3 separate regions of the Homo sapiens genome follow, and regions 1 and 3 are each linked to region 2. The links are contacts of gene promoters, found by promoter capture Hi-C in human tissues and cell types (Jung and others, 2019). All regions are on one chromosome and are shown on one strand. Each heading gives the region's core, a stretch centred on a gene start or on the middle of the fragment in contact. The rest is flanking DNA. Distances are from core to core; before and after follow the strand shown. Region 1 overlaps FZD6 (frizzled class receptor 6). Region 2 holds the start of CTHRC1 (collagen triple helix repeat containing 1). Region 3 overlaps SLC25A32 (solute carrier family 25 member 32).

What was found. The method cuts DNA at HindIII sites, captures the fragments that hold promoters and counts their contacts. A contact is called where the count stands out against the background at its distance.
Region 1: a contact is called between a fragment that was not itself captured here and the fragment with the promoter of CTHRC1 in region 2, in 1 of the 25 tissues and cell types used here (H1 embryonic stem cells).
Region 3: a fragment that was not itself captured here is called in contact with the fragment with the promoter of CTHRC1 in region 2 in 1 of the 25 tissues and cell types used here (hippocampus).

The regions. Positions count from the first base shown.
Region 1 is chr8:103,322,793-103,327,329 of GRCh38, reverse strand. FZD6 (frizzled class receptor 6) reads right to left here. Exons shown (of 7, transcript NM_003506.4): 4 at 1,832-2,849. Among named protein-coding and RNA genes, the nearest start is that of SNORD173, 16 kb to the right of the region's middle. The HindIII fragment of the contact is 6,528 bases long and covers 1-4,537 here.
Region 2 is chr8:103,369,747-103,374,106 of GRCh38, reverse strand. CTHRC1 (collagen triple helix repeat containing 1) reads right to left here and starts at 2,569. Exons shown (of 4, transcript NM_138455.4): 1 at 2,301-2,569. The coding sequence starts at 2,450. RefSeq lists enhancers at 634-683, 694-823, 1,321-2,114, 2,115-2,909 and a silencer at 2,566-2,685. The HindIII fragment of the contact is 7,309 bases long and covers 270-4,360 here.
Region 3 is chr8:103,403,460-103,408,046 of GRCh38, reverse strand. SLC25A32 (solute carrier family 25 member 32) reads left to right here. Exons shown (of 7, transcript NM_030780.5): 2 at 263-413; 3 at 3,186-3,271. Among named protein-coding and RNA genes, the nearest start is that of SLC25A32, 9.4 kb to the left of the region's middle. The HindIII fragment of the contact is 5,860 bases long and covers 1-4,587 here.

The DNA.
Region 1 (4,537 bases), core at 545-3,044, 46 kb after region 2:
AGCCACCGCACCCGGCCAGAGCTCTTTATTCTTTGTAAAGGCTGTTGCATTGTGTGAGTGAACCATAACTTATTCTACTATCCCTGTTAATAGATACTTACTTCCAATCTATTGTCATTTGCAAATAATGTTGTAGTGACTATCTTGGTATTATTTAATTTCTCATATTTGTAAGCAAATCTGTCTATAAATTCCCAGAAGGGCAGTATCAGTGTACACACATTATACATCTGTACATACCGCGAAATTGCTTCAACAGAAGGTTGAACTAACTCTTAATAGCAAAGTCTGAAAATATGTATTTTGCTATTTATTGTTTCACCACACAGTGGTTAGAACACCTTTAAGATGTTTGCCGTATCATACATGGAAATATAATTTAATTTTAATTTTACATTTATTTTACTATAACTTTTTCACATGTTTAAGAATAGTTTTTTCATTTTTATTTCCTGTGAACCTTTTTCCTACTCTTTTCTCATTTTTATATCAGATGGATGGTTTTTTTCTTATTGATCTGTAGCAACTCTTTATAAATTAGAGAAATTAGCCTTTCAGCTATGATGTCATATGCAAATAAACTTTCCCAGTTAGTCTTTTGACATTGATTATGGATTGTTTGTTTGTTTTTTTTTGTCACGCAGAATCTTTAAAAAAATTTTTTTTTACTTAGTCAAATTTAGCAATCTTTTATAATTTCTACAACTACAGGAATATTATATCCTTCTCCACTTGAAGATTATAATTTTCTAATTCTATTATATTTTACAGTTTCTTACATAAAACATAATAACTACAGATCTTAAACTTGAAAACCATAGATCTTAAACTTTTTAATAATATGTAATAGTTTCCTCTCCCCAACCTTGCCAAAAAGACTGAGGAAACTAGGAGTCATTATTAATATAGCAGGATCACTTTAAGACACAGCCTCTTATTAAGTATATAGTAAAAACAAACTATGGATAATAGATTATGGACAACGTATAAGGCAAGTAAAACTAGTATCCCCACATACCAACATAAAAAATAGATTCCACAATGTTATAAAGCAGTAACTTTCTGAAATATAAGCTATTATATGAAATAGTTTGACATTCCCATTGCTTAATTTGATACACTGTGATGGCAGTGCTCATGTTCAATGCAGTTAATACCGCACAGAGTCAGGAATAATGTCTAAAATCTACTAAAACAAAACCAAATTTCTATTTACAAAACTTCAACTAAAATGCTTTAAGAAATTTTATATTTTCAGAAATTTACTTTTATTAATTTTAAAAACACCACCCTTATACTAATCATAAGAATCAGAAATAGATAAAGCATATTTTGTTACAACTGTGTTTTTTTCAATTGAGAAATGACAGATGAGTCAGGCAAAAAGCAAATTCTGTTTTTGTAAGTATATACTATGTAAAAAGCTATAAGATAATATGATCAAATTAAATATATCCAAATAAGATTTTTTACTACTAACTAAAAAATTAAAAATAATTGCCAATGCGACAAAAGTGACTTCTGTTTTTCTCCCAATGTCAAGGTCTGTTCTTCTGACTCTGCTCTTTATTGCTATTAATCTGCCTTTGCAGCTCAATTTAATTTTTCAGAGAATAAAGGAAGTGCTTTACTATACAACTGAAGCTAAAGCTTGAGGAAGGAAGTCATGAAACATTCATCCCAGTTTCAGTTGATGTATAGGAAATCCTTACCTATGGCTCTTGTATTTTCTCACCTGAAATCAACTTTTACATCCATGACAAGTATATTTCCATGAAACATTTTCTACATTAAATGTAAATAGAGACATAATCCAAGTGATAGCTTTTACCTGATAAGGACATGGGATATGGTACTGACGACAATGATCAGAGACCCAAGTTATCTCCCAGGTAATCCTGTTCACTTGCTCATAGACGTAACATCCGAGAAGTGTCACTAATGGCACAAGATACAAGCCGCTGAAGACTCCAATTCGAATCATAAATTTCTTTAGTTTTTCTTGGTTCCGGCCATCATGTTGTATGACTTGTCGAACATGATTTAAGGAAATAATGCCAGCTAAAAGAAGAGAGAGCCCAACAAACACACAAAGGCACAGTGGCAAGAGTACAAAGTAGCGAGAAGCATCCAGGTCATAAAGGCCAACAAAGCAAACTCCACTAATGTTGTCTCCTTCAACTTTGTTCATAGCAAGAAGCATAACAGTCAGGAAACCTGGTGTTCCCCATGCAACAGCATGAAACCACACTGCTTTTTGCTCGATGGCTTCACAACTCCATTTTCTTCCTGCAGCTAAGAACCAAGTAATGGTAAGAATCACCCACCACACAGTGCCAGCCATTGTGAAAAAATACAAAAGCATGAACAAAACGGTGCAAGCCTTATTTTGAGAGCCTAGGACAACAGTGTCACCAAGTTCTAGCTTCTCATCTGCCTTATTGCAGGCTGTGCTATCGCCTAGCAAAAATCCAATGAAGTACATAAGAGATACAATGCTGTAACAGACAGAGTAATATATAATTGGTCTCTCTGGGTATCTGAATCTTCTAACATCAATTAAAAAAGTAAGGAATGTGAACAGAGTTGCACAAAGACAAAATATTGAAACTGTTCCAATAAAACTTTTTGCAAACTCTAGCTCATCACTTTTAAAATACATGTTGGGGCATGGAGGCGCACACTGGTCAATTCCCAGAAACTTATATCCTTGTCCCCCAGAAGTCTTAAGATGCCTTGGACACCAAAATCCAATGTCTCTTTGGACTTGTTCTGTTTTCTTCTGAGGACCAAGAAATTCTGTGTGTGGATCAAAAGTTACAGGAACAGTCTCATCACAGTATTGTAATCTGTAAAGATTATAAAAATTAAATATATGAAATCAACATTTTTATTGATTCAATATATTAAGCAATGCTTTCCAACTATAAAATATTACCTTATGTATTCATGATTGATGGGAAGAGATACAAATCTAAATGGATTACAGATAAGAGTTGAGTAGAAATTTTTGAAGTTGACTAAAAACTTGTGGCTGTTAATGGGGCCTCAACACAATAATTTATATTAAATACAAAGCAGGTGAACATGAAAATGCACTTACTTGGAAAAAATTAGCCAATTCATAATTTTAAAATAATTTCTGTTTTTAAGACTAAATATTTAAAAGAATTTATCTTAATTGGTAGGCTCCAGATAAGTACTGGCTTGTCTCTTTATAGCATATGAAATATGTCTTTATATCATATGAAATATATCTTGTCTATTCACTTTTATTTTCTAATGTCCATAAGAAAAGTAAAGCAACCATATAACTAAAGTGATGATAATTAAAATGAATGAAATGAGATCCTTCCCTGGATTGACAGGATAGAGTTCAAGTTTTTAAAGACAGGCAAGTATACCAGCAAGAGGCAGGCTGAGGACCAGCTTAATGAACATCACCATTTTGTTCAGGTTGGGCTCTTTGCCTCCCTTGTTTATGGACAGTCCTGAGTGATAGATGGAGATATTTCCATCTCTTTATCACTAAGTTGAGTTTGTACATACCAGTATTATTTTGGGGGATCTATAATGGTTTAAAAAGTATTGGAGGTTTTGGCCAGGTACGGTGGCTCATGCCTATAATTCCAGCACTTTGGGAGGCTGAGGCAGGTGGATAACTTGAGGTCAGGTGTTCAAGACCAGACTGGCCAACATGGCGAAACCCCATCTCTACTAAAAATACAAAAATTAGCTGGGCGTGGTGACAGGTGCCTGTAATCCCAGCTACTTGGGAAGCTGAGGCAGGAGAATCACTTGAACCTGGGAGGCGGAGGTTGCAGTGAGACAAGACCGAGCCACTGCACTCCAGCCTGGGAGACAGAGAGACTCTGTCTCAAGGAAAAAAAAAAAAAGTACTGGAGGTTTTAAATGAGAAAGCATTTTAAATATACCTTAGATAAGAACAGACTAAAACATATGCCCATAAAATGAAATACAAAAAAAACTACCAGCTTTATTAAAACATAATATTATGTCAATTTTGCTTTATATCTTTTAAAATAAAGCAATATAACATTATAGATACAGTGGGGACCCTTTCTGGTCTTAGTTCCTTCTCTCTCTCCTCAGAAGTATTCATTACCACAAATTCGGTGTTTACTCTCAAGCATTTTAAAATATTTTTATTACATTATTTACTAACTATAACCTTATAAAGTATTGTTTTTCAGGTTTTGAACTTTATATAAATGACACCATGCTGTATATAGCATGCTATAACTTACATTTTAAAATTTAACACTATATTTTCTAGATTTATCCATGTCGACAGATGTGGGTCAACTACATTCATTTTATCAACTGTATGGTAGTATTCCAGTGTGTAAGTACATCACAATTTACTAATCATTCTTCTATGATGGACTTTTAGATTTTTTCCCATTAAAAGAATTAGGAATAATCTACAATCAATATTCTTGTGCACGACTCTCTGTGTAAGAGTTTCTATGGGAGGGGATTTCCTAGGATGCAGGGTTAAGCATCTGCCATTTTA
Region 2 (4,360 bases), core at 1,320-3,819:
ATTTACTGTCAGAGAAATAGTTAAAAAAAAGAAAAGAAAAAGCATTTAACAATTACAAAAGTATTCAAAGACACAAAAAGTAAAGCATTTTAAAAGTGCAAAATATTTCAAAATAGTTTGGTGTGTTTTAGACTTTATTTTTATTTTAGTAATTTAATTCACTCTCACAAGCAGATATATACAATGTTTAGACATACATTTCAAATGGGAATAAGACTGCTTCTGATATTCTTTGATTTTTTTCACTATTATTCCCCTCAGGGCAAGATGCTACACAGACTAAATTTTACTTCATTATATATCAGTGGATCTCAACTGGGGACAATTTTGTCCTCCAGGGGACACTTGGCTATGTCTAGAGACATTTTTGGTTGTCACAACTTGGGAGAGGGGATTGCTACTGGCATCTAGTATGTACAAACGATGCTGCTAAACACGCGACAACGGACAGGACAAGTCCCCACAAGAATTATCTGGCCCAACATGTCCATTGTGCCATATTGGGAATTTTTATTCACCTTTTCATCTAAAAGATACATTTCAAAGACTATATAACTTTACTTGACTCGATTCCGCAGGTGTTACATCAGTCTTCTACTTTAAAATGCTAACCCAACATATGCTTAGTACTCTCAATAAATGTCTGTGGAATGAAAAAAAAAAGATGTGAAGGGAAGCGCACTTTTATACGCCCCTGTTTCTTTCACTGGCCACCAGGGGGCAGAGCTTTGTGGAAGCTTGAAAGGAACGCTTTGAAAGATCCTATACAAAGAAGTTGCTTTATAGAATCTGTTGAAACCTTAATGACTGTGGACTTCTTCTGTCAGCAAAACCAAATCCAACCTACAGGATGCACCTGAGCCTGACTGCAAAATCTTTTCCAAGTCTGGCTAGAGTTGTGGGAAACCACAGGTACTGTAAATCCTTGAAGGGGGGAAAATAGCAAGCTTCACAGGAAAAATGGGTATTTTGTGTATCATAACTACAGACTCATAAAATGCAAACTACACATGAACCATACTCATTTGGCACAGTTTTAATAATTTGGACACTTAAAATAGAACTGTTGCCTGAACACATAGTCCCCTTTTGTGGATCAAAATTACACAGCCTACCACCAAAAAGTGCTGTGTGAAATGGCGGGAATTTTTTTCCCAGCACTTTTGAATCCAATACAGAACTAGCTGCCAGGGAACTTGGTATATTAGCTCAGTTTAAAATGGCAGCTTAACAAATTCAAAACTTTCTTTTTAATTAAAAAAAAATGCCCCAACTTATGTCTTGCAATGCCTGTAAATCATGTTTGTCTGCAAGTGAGACTGAAGTTTATAATATGCCAAGGACTACGGTAGCTCTGAAAGGCTCCCTCATACCACAGGCCAGAGAACCTCTCCGCCCTCCACTGGGTTTGTTGATTTTTAGAGGGAAGGATTTTAAGCAAACATACCTTCCCACAGATGAGCCCCTGGAAAGCACTCGGGCCGTTCATTTCCAGTTTCCTGGAAACTGTTTTCTCCCGTAGCTTGACTGTGATGCTCCTACCTGGCGGCCACATATGAAGACCCAGGGTGTGTGTAATGACAGACTGCCCATTTGGTTTAAACAGAAGCAAAACAGGTCCTTAGAGGGTTAGCGCCGGGCCCCTTCATTTCCCTTTCCGGCCTTAAACCTTCTGAACCATTCCTAGCCCCAGCTGTGGTTGTCCAACAAAGTAAATTGCAGCCCATACTCCCTAGGAAGATGACCCAACGTGACTCATAGTCTTCAAGTTACAAAGAGTTGGACGGATGCTTTGTGGGGGTTGTTATTCTCTCTCGCAGGCAGACGTGGCCACCAGCCCCAACAAAGGACACGTTGCACCGCCCTGGCCCAGGCCCAGGTCCATGTGATCAGCGAGGCCAGGGTTTTTCCCAGGTCCACTTCGGACGTACCCAAGCTCCTCATCCTACTCTCACTGCCGCCCTATCCCTCCCACCCTTCCCAAGGGGTCCCCCTGGGGCCAGAAATTATTGGGGGACTCCCTGTACTTCGGGGAGACCCACCGGGCCCATATCGCATGTCCGCTCCACGATGGCCTCCCATTTTGGTCTCCCCTCTGAGTTCCAAGACTCACTGCACGCATAACCAGGTCCTTCTTCACCTGTAAATAAAAAGCATGACACCCCGGCGCAGCAAGACACACGACACACAGCTGTACAGACAGACACCCCCAACAGCCAGACTGACGCCCTGCCCGTGGGGCGCGCGGCCAGGTCCCCTCCACCAGCGCGGCGGTCCCGGCTCGGCTCCCTCGGACTCACCAGGTCCACCACCTCCCTCTGCCGGAGCTGCGCCTTTTGCTTCCCCTTGGGGATCTCAGAGGCGCTCGACGGCGCGGGCAGCTGCAGCAGCAGGAGCAGCAGGAGGCCGCGGAGCCGCTGCGGGGAGGCGGCGGGGCCCTGGGGTCGCATGGCTCCCGGCTGCCGGGCAGCGCGGAGCTGGAGGCGGAGGAGACCGAGGAGAGGAACGTGGTCAGCGTCTGGCTCCGCCGCGCTCCGAGGCCGCCGCAGGCTGCATCAATGCGCCTTTCACCCGCGCGCCTCTCTCCCTCCCTTAATTCCTCCCGCCCCCGCGACACCCGGAGCTTCCATCCCGTAATAGGCCCCGAGCCCCCACCCCGAGCCCGGCGTGGGGGCGGACCGAGAGCCGGGCCCGCCCCCTCCTACTGCAGTCGCTCGGCCTGTCAGGACCCCCGCGGGGCTGCGCAGACCCTCGTGGAGAGCCCGCCTGCAGGGTCTGGGCGGGGTGGCCCGTGGTCAGGAGCCGCAGGTCGGGGATTCCCGCAGGTAACACAGCGCCGCCTAAATGAACATTTTAGAGACACGTGGCTTAACCTGGGTACACGAGCCACCTTCAAGGGTCGTCAATCTATGGCATGGGTCGGCGAGTCTTATTTGTTTTTTGTTTGTTTGTTTGTTTTTGAGACAGAGTCTCGCTCTGTCGCCCAGGCTGGAGTGCAGTGGCGCCATCTAGGCTCACTGCAAGCTCCGCCTCCCGGGTTCACGCCATTCTCCTGCCTCAGCCTCCAGAGCAGCTGGGACTGCAGGCACCCGCCACCACGCCCGGCTAATTTTTTTTTTTTTTTTTTTTTTTTTTTTTTTGAGACGGAGTCTCGCTCTGTCGCCCAGGCTGGAGTGCAGTGGCGCGATCTCGGCTCACTGCAAGCTCCGCTTCCCGGGTTCACGCCATTCTCCTGCCTCAGCCTCCCGAGTAGCTGGGACTACAGGCGCCCGCCATCACGCCCGGCTAATTTTTTGTATTTTTAGTAGAGACGGGGTTTCACCGTGTTAGCCAGGATGGTCTCGATCTCCTGACCTCGTGATCCACCCGCCTCGGCCTCCCAAAGTGCTGGGATTACAGGCGTGAGCCACCGCGCCCGGCCCCGGCTAATTTTTTATATTTTTAGTAGAGACGGGGTTTCACCGTGTTAGCCAGGATAGTCTAGATCTCCTGACCTTGTGATCCGCCCGCCTCGGCCTCCCAAAGTGCTGGGATTACAGGCGTGAGCCACCGCGCCCTGCCTTATTTGTTTTTTGGAGGTGACATTTTTGGAGGCTGGAAGGTGGGGGTGGGGCGGAGGCAGGAAGAAACCATAGGTATCATCAGGTTTTCCAAGAGTCCCATGACCCAAATGATATATAAACGCTGTTTTCATAAGTGCTAACACTTACTAAGCTCTGGCACATTGCAAAACCTTGCACGCGTACTCTGTCCTCTCAGCAATCCTGGCGGGTTGGGAGGGGTAGATGCCTCCTGGGCTACTCTCATAAACGAATGAGGAAACTGAGGCTCAGGGAAGTTAATCAATATCCAGTGGAAATGGTAGAAGTTCACTTTTGAGTACTCTTTGCCTCTGATGGATATTATCTTTTTGTAACCCCCTCTGTCCTCCTTTGGCCTGTCCATTGTAGAAGAAAACATTCTCAGGGCCCAGGCTACCCACCACGTAGGGCCAGGTTGGAGCAGGAGATCTTTTATATATAACTGGCTGGAATCAGGCATAACAGAAGTCTTGCCACACCCATAACAACACGAGGTTGTGACGGATGGTAATACTGTGAAGTCAAATTCAGCTCAGCAGGGGTCTCCCTATAGACCCATGCAGGTTTTCCGGAGTTGGTGAGTCCAGCTGATGGATGTTAAAGAGAGGGAGCAGTCTAGCAGGGAAGCAGGTCGCGGCAGTTCTGCAAATGCCCAGTCCTGGGCTGGTAACTAACTAAAGGTAAATTTCACTTGTTTTTCTAGAAGCAGCAAAAATCCAAATGAACTGTAAAGCCAGGGCTGGTTATATAATTTGCCCCACCCAGTGCAAAATGAAAAT
Region 3 (4,587 bases), core at 1,351-3,850, 34 kb before region 2:
AAGATCGTGCCACTGCACTCCAGCCGGGGCAATAGAGCGGGACTCTGACACAAAAATGTATATTTTACATATTTATATATATATATATTTATATATATATGTAATATATATATAAAAGCCTGGAAAATAATTTTTTCTACCTAAAAAAGTTTTTCTTCTAAGTTTATCTCCTTTATATAACCAATTGTACAGTGTCTGTGTTTATATGTGATACAGAGCTAGAACTTTGTTCTTACCTGACTTTGTGTATCCCTTGATGCAGTGAGTGATGGATTGGAACTGAGACCGAAATATAATGGAATTTTACATTGCTTGACTACCATTTGGAAACTTGATGGACTACGGGGACTTTATCAAGGAGTAACCCCAAATATATGGGGTGCAGGTTTATCCTGGGGACTCTACTTTTTCTTGTGAGTAGATTTGGGAGATTTTACAGTATTAAATTAAAAAGGAATTTTTGTTTTCGGTGATTTTTACATGTAAATGTAAAATGATAAGTTGAGTCATTTAATCAGTTTCTCTGAATTGGAAGGATCAGGAAGAACAAAATGGCTGATTAGTTATTTGATTAGTTTGATTCAAAATGGCTTATTAGTTTGATTATCAGATGCCTATTAATAGCTAATGGCTTATTAGCTATTATCAGAGGCATTATTTGGTCTGGAAGAAAATTCTTAATAGGAAAAAGGCAAAGAGATGAGGTGGAATGATACTTTTAGAGAAGCCATTTCTGTGAGGTGAATTCAGGAAGATGAAATGTATAACTGATTACTTTTGTAAGCTAAATACATATTAAAGAGAGCTTTTTATTTTAGTTAAAGCCATTTGAAAAACAGCCAACTCCAGATAATTCACAATGAAATTGTAGGGCCCCATCGGTGTTTTATTAGGTGTTTTGGCCATATCAATACATACTTGTGAGCATTTCTAATTAGAGTCAAAATATTACTAGATTAGAAAAAGTTGAATCAGTCGGTTTGTTATTTATTAGTGATTTTGGAAAGTGATGTAGAGACTGGAAGAGCCTGCAGCTGTTGTCCAAAATGAATCCTGTGGATTTCAGCTCTCTTTGGTATTCAATTTTGATAAAGAAAGATTGTTTAAATAACTAAGTTATTTTTTCCGTTTATCAGAGATTAGTTCCGGAGTGTCCCAAATAGAAAATTTTATAAATACTGAAGTATCATTAATTACTTGTTTATCCTCAACCAGATTCCCAAGATATTTGAGATGGCTTACAAAAATACATTTGTTTATGATGAAGGTGGAAAAACAGAGAGGATAGACCTTAGGGTCCTCATATGAATAGGTACCACAGGAAATCGCTGTTGGGAACAGAAAGCAAAAGCCAGTGCATGGCCTAAAGGGTTTGAGGCAAATTGTTTCTTCTTGTTTGACCTGCCCCATCATCTTCCCAGCTCATTGCTTTCCTTACTCCTTCACCAGTCAGATATCATCACCATTTAAAATAACTGCTCTCACCTGCCTCCTGAAGAAGCCATAGAAAGTTCCTGTGGCAGGCACATTCAGCTTATTTAGTGAACAAGAACATGGACACAAACCATCATCGCACTGTATTGCAGGAGCATGTGCTGCTCTGAGCACGCCTCTGATCTGTGAAACTGAAACCATGAATAAGGAAGCTTTTCTTTGCTTCAACAGATTTCATTTTTAGGAAAACATCAGTATCTAGTGTATTTGCCTTTGTCTTCTTTGTGTCATATATTTTGCTTGATCTCCCATAAGTTTATGGCAGTATCCAAACCAATCTTAAAGTATCTTTTAAGTGAAAGCAAAATAAAATTCAGCCTTAAAATTGTTTAAATATTTTTTCTCTTTTTCTTCTCTTTAGAGAGGTGTGTGTGAAACTATATACACACACACCCCCCTTGACATATATATGTGTGTATAGAATGTATGTATATATGTATATATAGATATGTTTATGTATATGTGTGTGTGTATATATATATATATACACACACACACACACATCATGAATTTGAGTTGTATAGATTCTTCAAGACAGCTTCTAAGGACAAGCCATATAAAATTTTTGTGATAAGAATTTCTTGGGCCAGGTGCAGTGGCTCACACCTGTAATCCCAGCACTTTAGGAGGCCAAGGTGGGAGGATCACATGAGTCTGGGAGTTCAGGACCAGCCTGGGCAACATAGTGAGACCTCCATCTCTTCAAAAAATTTAAAAAAGAATTAGTCTGGCATCATGATGCTGCATGCCTGTAGTCTTAGCTAATTAGGAGGCTGAGGCAGGAGGATTGCTTGAGCCTAGAAATTCAAGGTTACAGTGAGCTATGATTGTGTCACTGCACTCCAGCCTGGGTGATAGAGTGAGACTCTGTCTCTGAAATAAAAAAAAAAAGAAAGAATGTGTTCACTTGACATCGTCATCCAAGAGAAAAGTAGAAATCGGCATTAAAGGAAATAGGCTGATTTGACTCCCTTACTCTGAAACATTTAATGGATATTTTCTACCAAATAAAATGCAAATCTCAATCTACCACTCAAGTGTGGCCAATTTTCCCTGTCTTCCCACCCACCCTTATTACTTTTCACCATGCTCATCTTTTTCCTTGTTGAAACTGTGCCTGTCTCAATACCCAGCTCAATACTACCTCCTACACAAAGCCTTCTGTGATCTCAGTCATAATTCCTGAATTTCTTCTATTGTCTGTGTTGTCTTTTATTATGATTTATTTGTGTGCCACTTAATAGTCCTTATTAATTTGTTAAGAAAAATTCATCACTTGTTTATCTTTTTATCATCTATTAGAAAGCTAACTATAGTACCTGAACGTAGGTGCTCAGTATATATTTGTTAGGTACCCCTTCTTTGGTCCCTTTTGTCTTTTATGGCCAGTCTGTGTACCACTACTGTACTCTCCCCTCCTCCCAGTTTCCTTGTCTTTTGAAGTTAATTGATGAGTGTCTGATTAAAATATTTTACATTTGTATTGCTAGCCGTATTCATTTGAGAGGGAGGGGTGGTATAATCTTGCAGCAAACCACTTCCAGCAAATTCATTCTTGAAAAAGGTCTCATTTTGTGGTTGCATTATGCATTGACTTGTGCTTTTGGGGTACTGCTGTTGACTTACATACACTTTAAAACAGACTTAATGACACCTATTCAAATTAAACTGCTCACATTTAATTCTTTTAGTTACAATGCCATCAAGTCATATAAAACAGAAGGAAGAGCTGAACGTTTAGAGGCAACAGAATACCTTGTCTCAGCTGCTGAAGCTGGTAAGGCAATGTGTGAAATATAAAAATGTCACCTTCCAAACTTAATTTTCAGTTTTGGTTTTTGATTTCTTTTCTTTGAACACCTGAGTTTAAATATGCCCATCTAACTGTATTAAATCAGTTACATGGAATTTCTGTTTTTTTTGTTTGTTTGTTTTTCGGTTTTTGGTTTTTTTTTTTGAGGCGGAGTTTCGCTCTTGTCGCCCAGGCTGGAGTGCGGTGGCGCTATCTCGGCTCACTGCAACCTCTGCCTTCGGGTTTCAAGCGATAATCCTGCCTCAGCCTCCTGAGTAGCTGGGACTACAGACACGTGCCACCACGCCCAGCTAATTTTTTGTATTTTTAGTAGAGATGGGGTTTCACCATGTTGGCCAGAATTGTCTCGATCTCTTGACCTCTTGATCCACCTGCCTCTGCCTCCCAAAGTGCTGGGATTACAGGCATGAGCCACCACGCCTGGCTGTTATATGGAATTTCTTAGCAGAAATTATTATGATTACTCTGTGCAGATTTCAAGAATTTTACTCATGACAAAGTGGTAAAGTTTAGAAAAGTTATGAATCCCTAATGGTTTAAAATGATTTGGTATAGTGTTTCTTTAAAGTATAATTTTAATTTTCAAATTATACAATTTAGTAGCCTTGTTTAATCGCCTCACTTATGTATACTATCCAGAAGGAAAAAACAGTAAGAGCCGTAAGTCTTTGTAACTCCTACTTTAATACCTTGATTTCTTAATGTTGATTAGTCAAAACCTAACTTAATCATTTTTGAACACATAGCCACTAGCAAAAACCTGAGTCATAACAGGACCAAATATTTGTTGAATAAAGGACTACTTAGGAAACCTGGCAAATGAGAAACTTAACCAGATGAATTTTTTAATAAAATTGTCACTCTATAAAGGATGTAAAATGTGACTTACTGTATTACATAATTATTTAATTTTTGAGGGGTAGTAGTTACTTTGGATTTGAGGAAGATTGTGATAAAGTTGGGGTAGATATATGTGTCACATGCACAGATTATTGGGGTGCCAGATTCCTGGTTCTTTTCGCCTATCTTCAACCCCTCTGGGATTATACCATGTGCTACACCTAAGGTCTGTATCTGCTTACCATCTGTTCTCTGCACCAGGCCACGTTGTTTAGGAGTCAAGACATTTTTGCTATCCTTACACTTCAAAGAGAAAGCATTTCACATTTCCATCTCCCTTTTAATTTACCTCTAGCTAACTGCATGAGGAACTTTTTATGACTACCAAAAACAATGTCTACCTTTTGACCCTAAGACTGTGCCTCAGAAACTACATTTCA